Linked DNA regions of Homo sapiens: region 2 is linked to region 1. The links are contacts of gene promoters, found by promoter capture Hi-C in human tissues and cell types (Jung and others, 2019). All regions are on one chromosome and are shown on one strand. The core of a region is centred on a gene start or on the middle of the fragment in contact, and the rest is flanking DNA. Distances in the headings are between cores, read along the strand shown. Region 1 holds the start of TTC7B (tetratricopeptide repeat domain 7B). Region 2 overlaps DGLUCY (D-glutamate cyclase).

Region 1 (7,193 bases), core at 424-2,923:
GCTGGAGTGCAGTGCTGCCATCTCAGCTCACTGCAAACTCCGCCTCCCGGGTTCACACCATTCTCCTGCCTCAGCCTCCCCAGCAGCTGGGACTACAGGCGCCTGCCACCACGCCCGGCTAATTTTTAAAAATATTTTTAGTAGAGACGGGTTTCACCATGTTAGCTAGGACGGTCTCGATCTTCTGACCTCGTGATCCGCCCACCTCGGCCTCCCAAAGTGCTGGGATTACAGGCGTGAGCCACCGTGCCCAGCCAAAAGCCAAGGTCTTATAATGGCCCACCAGGCACTACACAGAACTCCCCCCAACCTCTCAGAGTTCATCTCCTGCCTCGGCCCCTCTCCTTCGCTCCACCCAGCCCCTCTGGCCTCTGCCATTTCTCCATCCCACCCAGTGTGCTCTAACCCCAGAGCCTTCGCACTTGTGGTGTTCTCTGCCTGGGATACTCCTCCCCCAGAGATATCCTCATGGCTCCCCCTTAGTTTCTTCAAGTCTAATGCCACCTCCGTGAGGCCATCCCTGACTGCTCCATTTTAAATGGCAACACTTGCTCAGGCTGAAGTGCGTTCACTGCTCACTGCAGCCTCCACCTTCTGGGCTCAAGCAATCATCCTGCCTCAGCCTCCTGAGTAGCTGGGATTACAGGCATGAGCCACCCGCCTGTCCCAACTCTTTATGTTCCTCACTGAACCCTTCCCTGTTTCTTCAAATAGCCATTTTTACAGTCTAGTTTACTATTTTATTTTGCTTATTTTTCCCCCAAACTGGAATGTAAGCTCTCTCAAGCCAGGAATTTTGTTTTTTTAGCTCACAATTCTATCTCTGGCACCTAAAGCAGCGCCCAGCACATAGTAGGTGATCACTAGACAGTTGATTCACTGAGAGAACACAGAGGGACACCTCCCTAGGTCTCAGTCTAGGTGGCCAAGACAGGAGGCCCCACCAGTGACTGTGCCTTCCCCTCAGGGGGTCCGAGAGCTGGCGTGTGAGAGTGGCAGCCCCTGCCTGGCTCCGCTCAGCCATCTAGGGCACCCCTGGCAGGTGCTGTGCCTTGCCTGGGATGGAGGAGTCTCCGTCCACCTCTGGCTGGGTAGGGGCTAAGGCTGCGGGGCAGAGGGGCATCTGCTAAGGGGCACAGGCCAACCGGGCCCCAGGGAACCGCTGGCCACCTGAGATGGCAGGACAAACTCGGGCAGGCCTCCCCCCACCCCTCACACCTGGCTCACTGGTCCCACCGGGCGGTGACCTTCCCCAGGGTCACTGCCCTTTCTTGGCCCTACTCCTGGGGATCCAACCCGCTCCCAGGCTGTCGCTAGCTCCCTCCCGATCCTCTCCCTCCCCTTCATCCTGCCCAGACCCCTACCCCACCAGACCCCTCACCCGCCCTTGGTCAGATCTCTCTCCTACCCCGCTCCCCCACCCCCATCCCCACTTCCCCTCGGTCTTCACCCCGCCCCAGACACCCCCAGTCCCTCTCCCTGTCCTCCATGCCCACCCCGCCTTTCCTCCCTCGGGCCCCTGTCTCCCGCCCTAGCCCCCGCCCCTGCCCCAGCCCTGGCTCCGGCCCCGGTCAGTGCTGCGGCTCCGGCCCTGGCCGGCAGGGGCCGCTCCTCGCGGCGCCCGGGGCCCCGCCGCGCCCGCCGCCGCCGCCCGCCTCCCCGCCCCTTCCCCAGCCGGCGCTCCCGTTACGCCGCGGAGCCGGGAGCCGGAGCCCGAGCCCGCGGCGGCGGCGGGAGGCGGCGAGGGGGCGCCGCGGCGGCGGCGGTGGGGCCTGCGGGGCGGGCGGCCGGGCCCGGCCAGGCCGCGATGGCGACCAAGAAGGCAGGCTCGCGGCTGGAGACGGAGATCGAGCGCTGCCGCTCCGAGTGCCAGTGGGAGCGGATCCCTGAGCTCGTCAAGCAGCTGTCGGCCAAGCTCATCGCCAACGGTACGCTCCGGGCGCGCCGGCCTGGGCTGCGGGGGGCGCCGCGGCCTCCGCGGGAACGGGCCCCCGAGGCGCGGCCGGGCGCGGGGCGCGGGCAGGGGCGCGGCCGGGCCGCGAGGGAGCTGCGGCCCAGGGGATGTGCGCGGGACCGGGGCCTGGGGGAGCCCGGGTGCCCCGGAGTCACGCGGTGTGGGGGCCCGGGGGGGCGCCAGGGGCTGTCCCGGCGCCTGGGGTTCAAGCGTGCAGGGCGGGCTTCTGCGGAGTCTGGGGTGTCCGGGGGTCTCAGCGAGTCCGCTGCTCCACTGGGACCACAGGAGGTCAGGGGCCGGCCTGGGGCTTCCAAGAAGTTGGAGGTGATGGGGTGAGGGGGTCCCTCAGGACATGGGTGAAGTCCACAGTGTGTGTATGGTGTGCTCAGGGAATCAGGATGTGTTTATGGGGTCTTGAGAATGGGGTGTTGTACATAGACCCCTGGGGAATCTGGTTTGTAAACATATGGTGTTTAAGGGGTTCTGGGTGGAAGCGCAGACTCGAGGTGTGTGGGGTGGTGGTAGAAAGCAGGCTGGGATGTGCGTCCTGGCGTTCGGAGAAGTAGCATCAAGGCTGCCGACCTAGAGAGGTCAGGGTTGGGAATAGAGGAGAAATAGAGTCAGGGGGACCTGGAGGGAGAATATTGTGGAGCGAGATGGGAATGTGGTTGAAGAATGTCGGGAGATGGAGTTGGGTGGGTGAGGGGTTGGTGCCTGGGCCAGAAGGGGGTCTGAGGCAGCCTCTGAGTAGGAGCCTGGTGCCTGGAGTTGGTTCATGACCCCTTTAACTGGATTGGTTCTTGTACCCAATCAAATAAAATTGCATCCAGAATCCCATTCCAGTGCACAGCTCCACGTGGCCTTATTTGTTTTGGAAGCGAGTATCTTTAATATTTGCTTGTCTTTTAGTACCCGCCTAAAGCGCAGGCACCAGCACACCGTGGCCAGAGGGCAGAGGGTTTGTCTCATTTCATCCTGGGCTTCCCCAGGCCCAGTGAGCACATGTTGGCTGAACAAATGAATGAAAGAGTGAATGAATGGATGGCGGGGCTGCTCTAAGAAAGGACATCTGCACTATTTTCAACCTTCTCACTTCAGACTACCCAGAAAGGAGAGGGATGTCAGGTGTCCTCCTGGAGGGTGGTTTATGTTTGTGTCCTATGGTATTAGTGCCTGGAAATTAGAACTTGGTTTTGCGCACTCTCAATGATGGATGCATGCTGTGGGCAGGTACCTTCTGGGTGAACGCAGGTGCCATGGTGTGTCAGGGGCATGGAGATAGCACCGACCCTACACGGGCTCCACTTGGTGGAAAATGTGGACCCTTCTCAGTTATGTCAGCCTTTGAGGAGATGGTGTTCAGTGCCCTGGGCCCCAGAGGCAGCTTGCCTTTGCCCTCCGTGTCGGGCTCACCTGCTTCTCCGCTTACCTGCAGCATTTTCTCTTTTCCTCTCGGAGTTGCACAGTCCTGGGTCTACTTTGTGGCTTCCCAGCGGTGTAGGCATAATGACACCTTCTGTGCAGGTTGATTTTAGGATTAAATGGGTTTATTTGTGAGCCTCCTGGTCTTTTTTCTTCTGAATCCACTTGTTTCCTGCTGTCTTTGCTTATTCATTCACCCAATATTTGCGTGCCCACCTGTGCCAGTCACAGAACAGTGGTGAACAGCACTGACCAAGCCCCTGCCCTTATGCCCTCACCCTGCTCTCAGGAGGCAGGTGATAAGCAAATATGGAAATAAATAAACAGCACAGCTTCAGATAGTGAGAAGTGATTGAAACAAAACAGATGAGTTAATGTGATTGAGAATGACAGGCAGATGAAGGGGGACTCAAGCTATGATGGTCCCTGGAATGAGAGGGTAGATGGGTTTTTGGTGGCCTGGGCCCTTCCTATTCACCTTCATGGCCCCCGAAAGGCTTAGCTCTCTTCCCAGGGGCTGCTCCCAATGTCCTAAGATGCAGTCATGAGTGGGGCTTGGGGATCGGGGTTTGCGGGGGCACTGTGGTCCATGGGTCTGTGTGCAAGTTCAGTTTGGGGAAACTCATGGGACATAGATTTTTGTCCTAGAGACTCACATGGTGAGTGGTAGCCATTGATGGCAAAAAGTTACCCGGACTTGAAAAGATCAGACAGAGTGAGTGCTCAGGAAAATAAAACGATGAAGCCAAGAAAAAGATGAAACTAAACTAGAATGATTGTGGCTCTCCTTTGGTGTTTGCAAGAGGGGCCTTCCCTCCGTTTGACTGGTGAGGCCTTCCCACTCTCGGGCTGGTAGAGGGACTTCTTCCTGGCTTTTGGGGGCACCGGCTCCCCCATAGATTCTCGGGTGCATGAGCACAAGTTCTGGGCAGATTTTGCAAAATCCTGAAGTTAAAGCATCTTCTGCTTAGAATAAGGAAAGCAAGTGAATGTCACGTTTGTCACACTAAGACAGTTACCATGAAAACAACCACAGGCGAAAAAAAAAAAAAAAGAATACAGTGTTTGGAGCCAGCCAGATGGGGGACTGATTCTTGTGACCTTGGCCACTTCTTGACTTTGTGACATTGGCCAAATCACTTAACCACTCTGAGCCTCAGTTTTCTCATTTTAGAACGGGATTTAAATGACTTACCTTGCAGGGGTTGTTATGAGGGTTAAAGTAGCTAATGTCTCTCAGGGCCAGCCACTCATTCCTTCCTTCCTTCCACAAAGATTGAGTACCTGCTCTGTGCTAGCCACTGTTTTAGGCACTGGAAATACACTGGTAAACAAAACAGACAAAAATGGCAAAAATCTCAGCCCTTATGAAACTCACATCCCAGTAGGAAAGGGGCAGGGAGACAGATAATCAATATAATCATTAGGTAAAGTTTACAGGGTGTCAGATGGTGGTCAGTGCTATCAAAGAGAAAAAGGGGAAGGTGAATAGGTGCTTTGGAGTGGGCTGGGAGTGGGGGTTGCAGGAACTACTAGTTTAAATAGGGTGGCCCTGAAAGGTGTCCCCAAGAAGGCAACATCTGAGATGAGACCTAAGGAGGTGGAGAAGCATGTTCTAGGGAGGGAACTTCATGGGTAGAAAGTGGCGGGGCCTGATAGGCCGAGGGTAAGGCTTTGGCTTTCCTGTGAGTGAGACAGGGCTATGGGAGAGTTCTGAGCAGAGGAATCCCTCCTTCCCAAAGCTCCCACTTGTAGTGGGCTTCCCCACCCAGCAGCATTAGCTCCTTACGGGAAGGAAGCGTGGCAGCCCCTCCCCGTTAAGGACTCTAAATAGTGGACACTTTCAGAGTGTACTGCCCCAGCCTGGCTCCTTTGAGATGAATTGGTTTAGATGTTTTGCCAAGAGGTGGATAAGGAAGAAAAGGACAAATGCCAAGTTGAAAAGTGAACCCAGAGGTCTGTCTTCTTCCTCGTACCCTACCGTAGTCACCATTTTCATTGCACCATCTCAAAAAACCCAAATGTGGTGGAACCTAGCTGTGCACCAGACCCGGGTGAGTCCCACTGAGAGAATGGTCACCTAAGTTAAGGGTGGGGGTGGGAGACAGTCCCCCGGAAGCCTAGGCCCTCGTGGGCTGAAGTGTGGCCTGGGGATGAGTGGCAGGGGCACCACCGGGAACCTGTGAGAAATGCGGATTCTTGGGCCGGCTTCAGACGTGCAGGGTTAGAATCCACATCTCAGCAAGGTGTCCAGGGGTTTGGGGGACTCAGAGAAGCCTGAGGTGCCCTGGCTTGGAGCTGAGGCAGCAGCCTGAGCGCTCAGGGATAAAGACAGAGCTGCACATCAGCTTCATGTGGGCTCACAGGTCGGTCCTGGTCTCTGGGAGGACAGGCCCAGCTGTCCTCTCTCTACAGAATGTCACCCTCCAGCCTCCCAATGATGAGGTCACCACTGTGTGTGAAAGTGCAGTGACCTGGCACCGGGTCTAAAATTTGGACCTTACCTGTAGTGGCTAGGTGATCTCCAGCCAGGTTCTTAGCCTCTCGGAGCCTGCCTTTCCTCCCTGCTCAGCCAGCTCAGAATGCCCACTCTCAGGGCACGTGTGAGGATTCAGTGGGATGGTACCTGTCAGCCAGGGCACATGGTCATAATGGGGTTGGTTCCCTGCAGCTGACCCCTTGTGACCCTGGGCAAGGTAGGCCAGGTCCCAGCTGTCAGCCTGGCAGGGAAAAAAGAGAGTGGGGGACCAAGAAATGACACAGTTGAGCTAGTGCCCGGTCAAGACTCCCACCTATTGCAATGACAAACAGGCACATTGGAGGTCTGCGACTGTCCTGACGGACGGCTGCTCCCTTTTCTGAGGCAGTGTGGCTTCCCGCCTTCCCCAGCCTGTTAATCTTCTTAGGCAAGCTCGGCGACTGAGTTCACTTAGAAAGATTAGGCCCCAAATGGTAGCTTCTCCCTTAGGAGATCATTGCCTGTCGGATCCTATAAGATTTTGAGACATTTTAATTACCTCGTGGTGACGGGTAGGTAGGGAAATGGTGCCTGAAACAAAGAGTATTTCTGGGGCATAGTTTGGTAAGCAAATGTTTTCAGGCCATGAAGAAGAGGATGTGGAGATCTGTGTTGTTTTAAGCACGGGCATCCACAGTGATGTGGCTTCCCCTTGGTGGAGGGTGCAGGGTCCTGGGCTCCTAGACGACACCTGGTCATGCACACCCTCCTGTGAAGAAGAGGAGTCGGGGTGGACTATGGTCCTCCCTGGCTGGCCTGAGGGTCTTCTCTGGAAACAGGACTGAGGTTTAACTGAGAGTCACTGCTGTGGGGTGAGGCAGCCCCTGTTGTTTAGAGGTGGCTTCTTTGGACATACCTGGGGCATCACAGACTCCTGGGAGCCCAACTCCTCCCAGAATGTGGGGAAGGACACCAGTGAGATCTCTGGTGACCCACTATTATGGCCTTTCTGGGCCAGTCTTCCTGCTTTCAAACACTCTGTCCTCTTGTCATCAGAAGACCACACCTTTGTGGCAGACCATATGTCCTGATTTTTGGATTCAGAAGACTCATTTATTTGACAGTGACTGATTGATGGCACTGAGCTGGGATTGGGGCTCGTGGCCATGGTAGTCAGGGCAGAAGGATTTGGATTTCTTGTGGCTGTGCACAGTGGGGCTGGGGCTGTGCAGCTCGTCCTCAGCCTCATCCATCTGCTTGGTCTGGCCAACCTTTCCAGCATGTCCTTATGTCACCTGCTGCACTGCCTTCATTCCCCCGACTTCCCTCGGCTACTTTGGCCTCCTGGACCCTCCCACA
Region 2 (7,100 bases), core at 4,601-7,100, 300 kb before region 1:
TGTGGTTGTTGAACCACTGCACTCCAGCCTGGGGAACAGGGTGGGACCCTGTCTCAAAAAAAAAAATAAAAAAATAAAAAGCTCCTTAATAAAATTACTCTAAATAGGTTAACAGTTTTTTCTAAGAGAAAAAAAAAAGATATCATACAGAGCCTGATTTCAAGGCAATCTAGACAACAAGGTGTGAATACTGTTCTCCACTAAATACAACTGCTATCACTTCTTAGCTCTTCTGTGATCATCTCCCAGTGCTCAAAACGTATTCATCAAGCAAATGTGTTGAGCACTCTGTTAGATGATGGGAATAAACAGATGAGCAGACATGGCCAGTGCCTGTGAGGTGCTTAAAGACCAGAGAAGAGACAGATGCTTACTTCTAATTCCCCATGCTATACTGTGAACCTCTTAAGGGTAGGGGTTTTTGTCATTTTTTTCCCCCTGCTCTATCCCCAGTATACTGAACAGTGCCTGGCACACTATAGGCATTTTAAAAATACTTGATGATAGATAAATAATGAAAATCTGGCTGGGGAAGTAGGAGAAGCCTTCACTGAAGACATTAGTTGAGTTTGTTCTTGAAATTATTATTATTATTATTATTATTATTATTATTATTATTATTATTTTTGAGATGGAGTCTCACTCTGTCACCCAGGCTGGAGTGCAGTGGCGCGATCGCCACCACATCTGGCTAATTTTTGTATTTTTAGTAGAGATAGGGTTTCACCATGTTGGCCAGGCTGGTCTCGAACTCCTGATTTCAGGTGATCCACCCACCTCGGCCTCCCAACGTGCTGAGATTACAGGCGTGAGCCACTGCGCCCAGCCAAAAATATTATTTCTTGAAGAAAGAGTTACAGACATCCCCACAGGAGAGGAGGGTCTTCTCAGAAGCTTAGGTACAGAGCAGGTAGCATGATTGGAGGTGGAGTAGGACATGGAAAGAGCCATACAGTTCACTCTTTTGCCATTTACAGAGCACTTTCTGTGTGTCGGGAAATGTGCTTAAGCACTGGAGCTGCTAATGAGGAAGAGGCAAGGAAAACTGTGTTGACAGTGTCAGGCAGGTATGGCCTGGGAGACATTGCATGAGCTTTGACAGACAGCTGGAAATCAGCACTAGGAGAAAGGCTGAAGAAGTCTCTGTAGGTGACAGTGTGAGTGGTTGGCACACCTGGGGTAAAGAGGGAGAGGGGCTGGGAAGATAGACAAAGAGATGCTTGGGAGGGAGCATGTGCATAACCTGAAGGAGTATGAGCTTCATCTAAGAGCCCCAGGAGCACTAAGGGTAGGAGGATCCCCTGAACAGGCAGCACTTGGTGGAGGATGAATGTGAAGAAGAACATCCCTCAGAGACCCTCTGTCGTAAGTATTTGAGAAGCAATCCAGGCTTTCCCCAAAGTGAGAGAATGAGAGGAAGGGCTGATTTGAGGAACTGGAAGAGGTAGACTTGCCAGAACCTGATACCTGATTGAATGTATGCAAAAGGTGCAACGAAAGAAAGGAATCACAAATAATTATCAGGGCCAGGTGGGGTGGCTCATGCCTGTAATCCCAGCACTTTGGGAGGCTGAGGCAGGTGGCTCACCTGAGGACAGAGTTCAAGACCAGCCTGGCCAACATGGTGAAATGCTGTCTCTACTAAAAATACAAAAATTAGCCAGGCGCGGTGGTGGGTGCCTGTAATCCCTGCTACTCAGGAGGCTGAGGCAGGAGAATGGCTTGGACCCAGGAGGTAGAGGCTGCAGGTTGCAGTGAGCTGAGATAGCGTGATTGCACTGCAGCCTGGGTGACAAGAGTGAAACTCCATCTCAAAAAACAATAATAATAATAATTATCAGATTTCTTTTTCCTGGGATGGGCAACTAGCTAACTGTGCCATTCATGAAAATAAATACAAGAAGAGACTGATGAGGAATTTGGTTTTAGAATGCTAAGTAGGAGGAGCCTGTGAGACAGCCCCAGGCAGAGGTCCATGACAGGGTGGACATTCAGCACCAGAAGTCAGGAAGGACACCTGCCCGGAGGAGGGAGAGCTGCGAGTCATCAGCTTTTGCGTGGCTGAGGACACTAAGTGTATTAGTCAGGGTTCTCTAGATGGGACAGGACTAACATGACGAGGAGTTTATTAAGGAGTATTGACTCACACCATCACAAGGTTAAGTCCCACAATAGGCTGTCTGCAAGCCGAGGAGCAGGGAAGCCAATCCAAGTCCCAAAACCTCAAAAGTAGGGAAGCCAACAATGCAGCCTTCAGTCTCAGGCCAAAGCCCTGAGAGCCCCTGGCAAACCACTGGTGTAAGTCCAAGAGTCCAAAGCTGAAGAACTTGGAGTCAGATGTTTGAGGGCAGGAAGCATCCAGCACGGGAGAAAGATGAAGACTGAAAGACTCAGCCAGTCTAGTCCTTCCATGTTCCTCTGCCTGCTTTTGTCCTAGATGAGCTGGCAGCTGATTATATGGTGCCCACCCAGACTGAGGGCGGGTCTGCCTCTCCCAGTTCACTGACTCAAATGTTAATCTCCTTTTGGCAACACCCTCACAGGAACAAGACTTTACATCCTTCAATCCAATCCAGTTGACACTCAACATTAAGCCATCACACCGAGGGAGAGGGCAAAAGGCAGGAAGGGCTGTGGGTGGAACACAGAGACCCAGAGGATATTTAGGGAGTGAGTGGAACAGGAGGTCTCTTTGAAGGAAATGGAAAAAAAATGTCTAGCAAAGTAGGGTGGGAACTTAGAAAGAGTAGCACTGCAGTGAGAAAGAGTCTTCAGGTATGGGAGCACAGTGGTACCAAAGGTCCAGAAAGACAAGGTCAGATCAAGGTAGAAAAGCCTGGGAAATTTGGTCAGGGAAACAGAGTGGGTCAGGGAATATGAGTGAAAGGATATGTACAACTCTGAGGTATATCATTTAGAAGGGAGCTGTTTGCCCTCTAATTCCTCCCCTCTTCGCACTACAGGCAGGAACAGAAGGTGAAGGTGATGTTGAGTCACTTTTGACTATGCAGAAAAGGGAGCAACAAGATGGAGGAAGCTGGGTTCCTGAATGACCCTGTGGAGCAGAGTTGTTTGCCTGTCCTGGACTGACCATTTACCTCTTAGCTATTATGTGAAAGAGGAAAAATCTTCTACCCTTTTTGAGCAAATGTATTTTGGGATCTTTTTTACAATTTAGCCTGTACCCTAACTAATACAGAGTATCTCCCAAAGGCACAGATAATAATAATTTTAGTAGTAGTAGTATAATTTAAAAAAATTTTTTTTAACTTTTTAGGTAGACTTTTTAGGGTCTCACTATGTTGCCCAGGCTGGTTTCGAACTCCCAAGTTCAAGCAATCCTCCTTCCTTGGCCTCACAAAGTGCTGGGATTACAGGCATGAGCCACCGTGCCTGGCCCCACTGATAGGAATATTTCTTGAAAGTATAAACCAAAAGTAAAATTCTAAGCCCTTCAACCAATTGAATGGACCCCCTTTCAGCCAAGGGCATTCCAAAGAAACCTGAAATACTAGTCCAGGCCATGATGGGAGGTGAATGGCTGAACATGCCTCATTATCCCCCACCACTTGGGAGTTTAGATACAACTGACCAGCATTAACATTAAAACAGAGATCTTAAGACAGATAAAAGAGACTCTTTGTAGCCATAAGATACCAAATTCCAACCTGACTCTATCAAATGACAGATAAAGAAGGAAATCAAAATATCTTACCCCCAAATATGTTTCTTCACCATATTTTGAAACTGCTTTTTGTATCTGTAAATCTATTAACTAGCTCTTTCCCCTTCCAAGTCCTCCCACCTTGAAGAGAGTTATGAAGAGTCTGGCACCTTTTAAGGCCTGATAAGAGAGATTCACCTGTAACCCCAGCACTTCAGGAGGCCGAGGCAGGTGGATCACTTGGAGGTCAGGAGTTCAAGACCAATGTGGCCAACATGGTGAAACCCTGGCTCTACTAAAAATCTAAAAATACAAAAATTAGCCAGGCGTGGTGGGGGTGGTGGTGCCTGTAATCCCAGCTACTTGGGAGGCTGAAGGAGGTGAATCGCTTGAACCCAGGAGGTGGAGGGTGCAGTGAGCCAAGATCATCCCACTGTACTCTAGCCTGGACAACAGAGTGAGACTCCGTCTAAAAAAAAAAAGGGGGGGGGGGGGCGGGGAGAATTTACCATCCATTCTCTCTGAAGTCTGCTACCTGGAAGCTTCATCTACATAACAAGAACCTTGGCCCTTGGCTTCCACAACCCCTTTTATCTTGAATCCAAGCATTTCTTCCTGCTAACTTCAACTTTAGGCAAAGCTTAACTCATTTAACTAATTACCAATTGGGAAATCTTTGAATCTACCTATGACCTGAATACCTCAATTCTGGACTGAATCAATCAAACCAATGTGTACTTCACATGTATTGATTGATGTCTATGTCTTCCTAAACTGCATAAAACCAAGCTGTATCCCAACCATGTCAGGCACATGTTCTCAGGACCTCCAGGGTCCTCATGTTTGCCTCAGAATAAGTCTCTTCAAATATTTTACAGTTTGGCGTGTGTGTGTGTGTGTGTGTGTGTATGTGTGTGTGTGTGTATGTGAACAAAAGCTTACTCTGTGCCAGGCATTGTTCTAAACACTTTTCATGTACTATGTCATTTAATCCATACAACACTCCCTAGATGAGGGCTGTTATCCCTATTTTACAGAAAAGGAAGCACAGGATGATTCAGTACTTTGCCTAAAGACTCATAGGTATTGAGTGGCCAAACCAGCAGTCAAGCCCAAGTGTCAGAGGCTTTCAAACCAGAGCCACTCCATCTCGAACAGGGGCTGGGTAAAATAAGGCTGAGACTTACTGGGCTGCATTCCCAGGAACTTAGGCATTCCTAGTCACAGGATGAGATAGGAGGTAGGCACAAGATACAGGTCACAAAGACCCTGCTGATAAAACACTTTGTGGTAAAGAAACCAGCCAAAACCAAGATAGCAATGAAAGTGACCTCTGGTCGTCCTCACTGCTTATTATACACTAACCATAATGCATTAGCATGCAAAAGACACTCCCACCAGCACCATGACAGTTTACAAATGCCATGACAATGTCTGGAAATTACCTTATTTTGTGTAAAGAGGAGAGAAACCCTCAGTTCCAGGAATTGCCCACCCGTTTCCTGGAACACTCATGAATAATCCATCCCTTGTTTAGCACATAATCAATAAATAACCGTTAAGTATACTCAGTCGAGCAGCCCATGCCACTGCTCTACCTATGGAGTAGCCGTTCTTTTTTTTTTTTTGAGACAGACTCTCACTCTGTCGCCAGGCTGGAGTGCAGTGGGGCGATTTCGGCTCACTGCAACCTCTGCCTCCTGGGTTCAAGCAATTCTCCTGCCTCAGCCTCCCAAATAGCTGGGATTACAGGTGCATACCACCACACCCAGCTAATTTTTGTATTTTTAATAGAGATGGGGTTTCACTATGTTGGCCAGGATGGTCTTGATCTCCTAACCTTGTGATCTGTCTGCCTTGGCCTCCCAAAGTGCTGGGATTTCAGGCATGAGCCACCACGCCCGGCCTATTCCTTTACTTTCTTAATAAACTTGCTTTCACTTCCACTTTGCTATGAACTTGCCCCCAGTTGCTTCTTGCACAAGGTCCAAGAACACTCTCGGGGTCTGGTTTGAGGCCCCTTTCTGGTAACACAAGTATTCTGGATTGAGATCATACTTTCAGTCACTATGCTTTTCAAAGCATAACTTTTTACAATTTCACACAGTCAAAAAGACACAGCTTGGTCTTCCAGAGAGCTGTGCCTGAATGTGAACCTCAACATTACTGAAGGACCAAGGGCAGTCATTTAGTTTCTCTACAATTCTGTTTCCTCCAAGACAGCATGAGGAGATCCAAATTACAGACTTCATGGAGCTTCTGGAAGGATAAAACAAATTCAAGTCTGTTTAAGAAATGCTTTGAAAGCTGTAAAGTGTGGCATAAATGAAATATTGCCTTAAGGCAGGTTGGAAAATCCTTAAACCCAAAATAAGAAAATAAACTTTTTTTTTTAATGCAAATACCCTCTAGCAACTTGGCAGATCGCCTGGAAAGGCTGAGAAATCTGTCAAGGAGAGGGTTGGTTTTGTGTATCTGCCATGCTCCACTGAAAAAGGGAGATATTAATTGAAATTAATTGAAAGAGCATATACCTGTGCACTTGGACGAGAATCATTATTATCAAACCAGAAGGAGCAGCAATCTGCATTGCCCACAGGAACCAGGCAGGTACAGAAGTTTTGGGGTGGGTCAAGGAATGCAAAGCTCAGTGCAGGAGAGGTGGGGACTTTGGCAAACCAGCAGCTACAGCGCCAGCCGAGCTGCGGAAACGTGAGCCCATTCTTTCACAACGCGTGAAATTTTCCAAATTTCCAAGAGTCCTCACTCTTACAAATAAAACATGTCAGGGGCCACCAGTTGGCCTCCGGGGATCTAGCCCTCAGCTGGAAGTGACATCTGACTCTTTTAAGATGCTTCCTGGCTAGGTGTGGTGGCTCACGCCTATAATCCCAGCACTTTGGGAGGCCAGGCCGGATGGATGGCTTGAGCTCAGCCTGGCTAACATGGCAAAACCCTGTCTCTGCTAAAACTACAAAAATTAGCCAGACCTGGTGGCATGTGCCTGTAGTCCCTGCTACTTGGGAGGCTGAGGCAGGAGAATAGCCTGAACCCAGGAGATGGAGGTTGCAGTGAGCTGAGATCACACCACTGCACTCCAGCCTGGGCGACACAGCAAGACTCCGTCTCAAAATGAAGGGGGGAAAAAAAGGTGCTTCCTCATAATTATGTACAAGCCACAGTTTAGCCTTCTTTCAGTTAACTCCACCCTGCCCTGCCCTTCCCACCCATCACCTCCTTCCCCTTCCTGCTTCCTCAGCTTCACTCCACCCCTCCAGCCAAGTCAGCTTTCTTTCTTCTTCCTACTCTCGGCCTCTCCTTTCCTTCTTTTTAGCTCATACTCAGTTACCTTTAAAGCACAAAGCAGCTCTCGTCCCCTGCGTGCCAATCAATGCCAACATTCTTCCTGCCAACATAATCTCAACCTGCTGCCCTC

The links. Contacts are between HindIII fragments. The study calls those that stand out against the background at their distance.
Region 2: a contact is called between a fragment that was not itself captured here and the fragment with the promoter of TTC7B in region 1, in 1 of the 25 tissues and cell types used here (liver).

Annotation. Positions count from the first base shown.
Region 1 is chr14:90,810,910-90,818,102 of GRCh38, reverse strand. TTC7B (tetratricopeptide repeat domain 7B) reads left to right here and starts at 1,673. Exons shown (of 20, transcript NM_001010854.2): 1 at 1,673-1,928. The coding sequence starts at 1,808. RefSeq lists a silencer at 1,500-1,679. The HindIII fragment of the contact is 18,929 bases long and covers 1-7,193 here.
Region 2 is chr14:91,115,135-91,122,234 of GRCh38, reverse strand. All of the region lies in intron 1 of DGLUCY (D-glutamate cyclase), which reads right to left. Among named protein-coding and RNA genes, the nearest start is that of DGLUCY, 4.6 kb to the right of the region's middle. RefSeq lists enhancers at 1,691-2,890, 5,361-5,862. The HindIII fragment of the contact is 3,189 bases long and covers 4,256-7,100 here.